2 separate regions of the Homo sapiens genome follow, and region 2 is linked to region 1. Evidence: promoter capture Hi-C in 16 types of primary human blood cells and fetal thymus (Javierre and others, 2016). All regions are on one chromosome and are shown on one strand. Each heading gives the region's core, a stretch centred on a gene start or on the middle of the fragment in contact. The rest is flanking DNA. Distances are from core to core; before and after follow the strand shown. Region 1 holds the start of HEATR6 (HEAT repeat containing 6). Region 2 overlaps RPS6KB1 (ribosomal protein S6 kinase B1).

Region 1 (2,899 bases), core at 143-2,642:
CTAGGAATAAGAAATAATATACCAGCACAACGGAATCTAAATCCAAACAAAAAAATTAACATTTCTCCCCAAGCCCAAAGTCTTCAGAAAACTACCTCTGCTAAAGCATACCCCCAATTTTCACTGCTGAACAGAAATGTTTTGTTCTCAGGATAAAACATACATTCAGGTGACTTCAAGGTTTTCCCTAAGGGCCAAGGGTGAGGATTTGCTTTATATTTGCATAACTCAAAGGCCCTAGAGATGGTTTTCCCAATCTGCCCAACTGTGAAAGTCAAGCCTTCACTTCCTGGATGACTGAAAAGTGATCACAGATTTTTAAATGGCCATTTTATTCTCCAGCTTCTTGACTTCAAGGTTTCAGAAAATCTTGGGGTGTCTCATTTCAACCCGGTCACTCTTAGGCAGATTATATTTTACATGATTCAGTTAAACTCCAAAATTACTCTTCTAGTGGGGCGAGGTGCCTCATGATCCATGAGAGGATTCACACTGGGAAAAAGGGAGAAAAAGGAACCAAGAGTACAGCCAGCTGTCACTTAAGTAGGGAAAGCTGCCTTATATTCCACTGACCAGATTGCAATCACAGAGCCACAGCCAACTGCAAGGAATGCTAGGGAACGTAGCCTTTATTCCGGGTGGTTTTGTGCCTGGGGAAAGATTTTAGAAGAGTAGAAGGGTGCCTTAGAACTAGCGGTTTCTGCTACTGCCATCCACAGCATACCCTCTCCAACTCCAGCCCGAATCTGAAACTCTAGTACGGAACAGAGTACCTTCAGCCCTGTCCAGGAACAAACTCTGGGAGGACAAACTTTCTGGAAGCACAAATTGAGAACTCACTTTTCAGTCAGGGCTCAAGAAGGAGTGGCCGGCGAAAAATCTCCAAGCCAATTTCTTTCTTTTTTTTTTTTTCTGAGACGGAGTCTCGCTCTGTCGCCCAGGCTGGAGTGCAGTGGCGCGATCTTGGCTCATTGCAAGCCCTGCCTCCCGGGTTCACGCCATTCTCCTGCCTCAGCCTCCCGAGTAGCTGGGACAACAGGCGCCCGCCACCACTCCCGGCTAATTTTTTTTTTTTTTTTTTTTTTGTATTTTTAGTAGAGACGGGGTTTCACCGTGTTAGCTAGGATGGTCTCGATCTTCTGACCTCGTGATCCGCCCGCCTCGGCCTCCCAAAGTGCTGGGATTACAGGCGTCAGCCACCGAGCCCGGCCTCCAAGCCAATTTCTGACAAGCATCTGCAGGGTACCGGTCGGAGGAGTCCCGTAGTCATGGAAACCCCTCTGAGCCCCAGTCCGGTCTAAAAAAGGTACTTTCGGAACTAGAGCGCGCGGAACGGGAGGATGTCCCGGAAGTATTTCCCTGGGATCACCCCACCCACCCCCCCCGCCCGTAGAAAAGATGGCTGCTGTGCAAGTTGTCGGTTCGTGGCCTTCCGTGCAGCCGCGGGAGGCACCGCGGGAAGCAATCCCTGAGCGAGGCAATGGGTTTCGCCTCTTGTCTGCCAGGCTCTGCGCCCTGCGCCCGGATGACAGCAGCTCCGCCCGCACCGAGATCCACCTGCTCTTCGATCAGCTCATCTCCGAGAACTACAGCGAGGGCAGTGGCGTGGCCCCGGAGGTAGGCGGCGCGCCCTGCTGGCCCCGGCCCCGGCCCCACCCCTCCGGGAACCCAGCTGGTGGCCTCTGCCTGCCTTTCCCTGATCTTCCCACTCTCGCGCCTGATGATTTAGTTTCAGGATGGCGTGCCCCCTCCAACCTTGGCACATTCTTAGTTCTCCATTTGGAAGACCCTGCAGTGCTTGGCACGCTCGAGTCATTCAAAACCCAACTTGACGACTCCTGCTCTGATAATGCCTCGGGTTTCCTCTCTGATACCAACTTTCCATCCGCCCGCACCCTCCTTCACTCCCTCTCTGTGCACCCAGAACACTTGGTTGACAAAATGCATTACTACTGTTTATTGCGTACATGGTACACGGACCACGTGGGAATCTTAGAACTTGCGTAGTATTAGGGCTTGTTTGCTAATGAAAATACTGAAGCTCGTAAAAATACAGTATACAAAACTCTGCCACAAAGCCCCTATGTTTTCTGTTCCTACACACTAGCTCCTCCCCTCTGCCGTCTTTCTGAGTAATCTTACACACATCAGGCCTTAAATTAATGAATTCTCTGAACTGTTGACACCATGGCCTTCTGGCCCTACGTAGGAAAGAGGGAAGTGGTGCAAGTTGCCTGCTTGCACAGGCATCTCAAACTAGACAGTTCCTAAAGATGAAATTCATTAGCTCCAAACACGCATTCCCGTCCCCAGTCCATCCCACCTTCCAACACACATGCATCATCCACCAAGTCACACCAGACACAAACACTGGTTCTTCCCTCCTTCATCCCAGATCCTGACCAACTCAGGTATTTCAGAATGTGTCTCATATATATTTCTCAGTTCATCCCCTCCTGTCTATTCCCATAGCGAGTGCCTTAGACCTCAGGCAAGGCGACTTATGCCTGGACTGTTCGCTGATCCCCTCTGACTGATCTCCTGCCTCCTGTCTAGCTCCTCTCCAAGCCAGTCATTCCTCCAATGCCAGAATGATCTTTTCTTTAGGAGGAAAAAAAATTGTTCATAAACTTTAAAATCTGCTTTGGAAAAGTCTTCAATACGTATTGGTAAATGGTTGAAGCAAGTTGCAGGACAATTCATACAGAATGAGATCAGTATGAAGCTGGAGGAGGGATTTTAAAATATGTGTGTTTATATATGCAAAGTAAAAGGTCTGAAAGAATTGACTACAGAATAATAGTGTATGTCATTAGGAAGCAGAGTGAGATTAAGGCAGTAGTCGGGGACTTTTGCTGTATTTGTGTAATTGGATACTTTTGCAACAAAACTTCCATTC
Region 2 (2,899 bases), core at 209-2,708, 160 kb after region 1:
CTGCAAAGGGGAATACACAAAAGAAGTTGAATCTATCTATAGAACCCCAGCAAGGTTCAAACATTAGAGGAAAAATTAGAAGGAAGGGAAAAAATTAAAGGAACTGAAGACTGTAGAAGGCAGAAGGTGGAGTGCTAAAAACAGGGAGATCATCTACAAGTCTGTGTAAGGAACAGACAGACCAAAAAGGCTCCCATCTCCATACTAAGTCGAAGAACTAACCCTAGGAGAGTTAAATTCCCCGGGACAAAAAAAAAAAGTGAAAGATTAGATCCACAGAGTAAAGTACTAATGTAAAAACTCGAGTTTAGTGAAAGTCCGCGTGTTGAGAGGTAAGATCTCCATCTTCTCTCACTCAGCTCCAGAATGCTTTTTCCAGGCAAATGAATGGCAGAACTTTCTTAGCACCAACTGATCCTCCCCAGAAAAAAAAAGATCTACAGACAATATTTACTTATTTATTTATTTGAGATGGAGTCTCGCTCTTGTTGTCCAAGCTAGAGCACAATGGTGCAATCTTGGCTCACTGCAACCTCCACCTCCCAGGCTCAAGCGATTCTCCTGCCTCAGCGCCCCCAAACCAGCTGGCCAGGCTGGTTTTGAACTCCTGACCTCAGGTGATCAACCTGCCTCAGCCTCCGAAAGTGCTGGGATTACAGGCGTGAGCCACCACACCCAGCCCTACAGACACTATTATTTGAAGTTGTTGATCAAGTGCCAGCTAACCACTTGACTACCCTGCAGAGAAGCTTACACACACAGAACTTCTGATCAGCTTTTCAGAGTTCTACTCTTAAATATGAATAATCAGGCCAGGCGCAGTGGATGGGTTATTGAGGCCTAGGTGGACAGATCACTTGAGGTCAGGAGTTCGAGATCAGGCTGACAACATGGCGAAACCCTGTCACTACTAAAAATGCAAAAATTAGCCAGGCAGGGTGGCACATGCCTGTTATCCCAGCTACTTGGGTGGCTGAGGCACAAGAATCGCTTGAACCCAGGAGGTGGAAATTGCAGTGAGCCGAGACTGTGCCACTGCACTCCAGCCTAGACGACAGAGCAAGACTCCAACTCAAAAAAAAAAAAAAAAAAAAGAATAATCAGTGAATGACACCAGACATCTAAAGAAGGCCTCTAACATGGAACAAAGTGACTAAAACTGACTAAATCAAAGTCAAAGAAAACAGAAAGTCAAAAAAGAACATGCGTAAAACAAAAGAACATTTCAAATAATTATAATTAAACTCTCAGAGAGGCTGGGCGTGGTGGCTCACACCTGTAATCCCAGCACTTTGGGATGCCGAGGTGGACGTTTTGCCTGAGGTCAGGAGTTCAAGACCAGTCTGGCCAACATGATGAAACCCGATATCTGCTAAAAATACAAAAATTAGCCAGGTGTGGTAGCGGGCACCTGTAATCCCAGCTACTCAGGAGGCTGAGGCAGGAGAATCGCTTGAACGCAGGAGGCAGGGGTTGCAGTGAGCCAAGATCGCACCACTGCACTCAAACCTGCACGACAGAGTGAGACTCTTGTCTCAAAAAAATAATAATAAACATTAAAAAAAAATAAAACTCTCAGAGGGGTAAGAGAAGATATTATACTCATTAAACAGGTTGCTATAAAACAAAAACAACAGAAAGAATTCTGGAGAATCACAAATACAACAGCTTTAAAAAAAAATTTAGTCAAATGGCTGGGCACAGTGGCTTACGCCTGTAATCCCAGCACTTCAGGAGGCCAAGGCGGGCGGATCACCTAAGTCAGGAGTTCGAAACCAGCCTGACCAACATGGAGGAACCCTGTCTCTTCTAAAAATACAAAATTAGCCGGGCATGGTGGCACATGCCTGTAATCCCAGCTACTCGGGAGGCTGAGGCAGGGGAATCGCTTGAACCCAGGAGGCGGAGGTTGCGGTGAGCCAAGATTGCGCCATTGCACTCCAGCCTGGGCAACAAGAGCAAAACTCCATCTCAAAAAAAAATTGAGTAGAAGAAAGTAAACAAGACAAAGAAATGGAAACGTGGAAAAGATAAGAAAAATTAGATGATCGGTCCAGGAGATCCAACATCCAACTAATTGCAATTCCAAGAAGAGAAAACAGTGGGAAGGAAATTACCAAATAAATCACATAAGAAAATTTCCTAGAACTGAAAGACTAAAGCTTTAAGATTAAAAGAATAAAAATAGGCTGGGCACAGTGGCACATGCCTGTAATCCCAACACTTTGGGAGCCAAAACAGAACAACTGCTTGAGGCCAGGAGTTCCAGGCCAGCCGGGGAAACACAGGAAGACCTTGTCTCTACGAAACATTTTAAAAATGAACTGGGCGTGGTGGCATGCATCTGCAGTCCTAGCTACTCAGAAGTTGTGGCAGGAGGATCGCTTGAGCCCAGGAGTTACAGGTTACAGTGAAGTATGATCACACCACCACACTCCAGCCTGGGAAACAGAGTGAGACCCTGTCTCTTAAAAATAAATAAATTAATTAATTTAATTAAATAGGCCGGGCGCAGTGGGCCATACCTGTAATCCAATCCCAGCACTTTGGGTGGCCGAGGCGGGTGGATCACTTGAGCCCAGGAGTTCAACACCAGCCTGGGCAACATGGTGAGTGCCCATCTCTACATTTTTTTTTATTAGCCAGGCCTGGTGGTGCGTGTCTGTGGTCCCAGCTACTCAGGAGACTGAGGTGGGAGGATAGCTTGAGCCCAGGAATTTGAGGTTGCACTGAGCTATAATTGTGTCACCGCACTCCTGTCTAGGTGACAGGGCGAGACCCTATCTCAAAAACTAACTAAATAAAAATAATAATCAAAGTCAAAGCAACACACATCACTATAAAAACTTAGATCAGAAATAAAGAGAAAATCTTAAATATTTCCACAGAAAAAATAGGC

Evidence for each region. The method cuts DNA at HindIII sites, captures the fragments that hold promoters and counts their contacts. A CHiCAGO score of 5 or more calls a contact.
Region 2: a contact is called between a fragment that was not itself captured here and the fragment with the promoter of HEATR6 in region 1, in 1 of 17 cell types (M1 macrophages). The highest score is 5.6, in M1 macrophages.

What each region holds. Positions count from the first base shown.
Region 1 is chr17:60,077,414-60,080,312 of GRCh38, reverse strand. It overlaps HEATR6 (HEAT repeat containing 6), which reads left to right and starts at 1,392. Exons shown (of 20, transcript NM_022070.5): 1 at 1,392-1,617. The coding sequence starts at 1,399. It overlaps HEATR6-DT (HEATR6 divergent transcript), which reads right to left and starts at 1,004. Exons shown (of 2, transcript NR_135648.1): 1 at 841-1,004. RefSeq lists a silencer at 1,606-1,735. The HindIII fragment of the contact is 13,067 bases long and covers 1-2,899 here.
Region 2 is chr17:59,917,025-59,919,923 of GRCh38, reverse strand. The region is part of intron 4 of RPS6KB1 (ribosomal protein S6 kinase B1); the gene reads right to left. Among named protein-coding and RNA genes, the nearest start is that of RPS6KB1, 25 kb to the right of the region's middle. The HindIII fragment of the contact is 1,413 bases long and covers 752-2,164 here.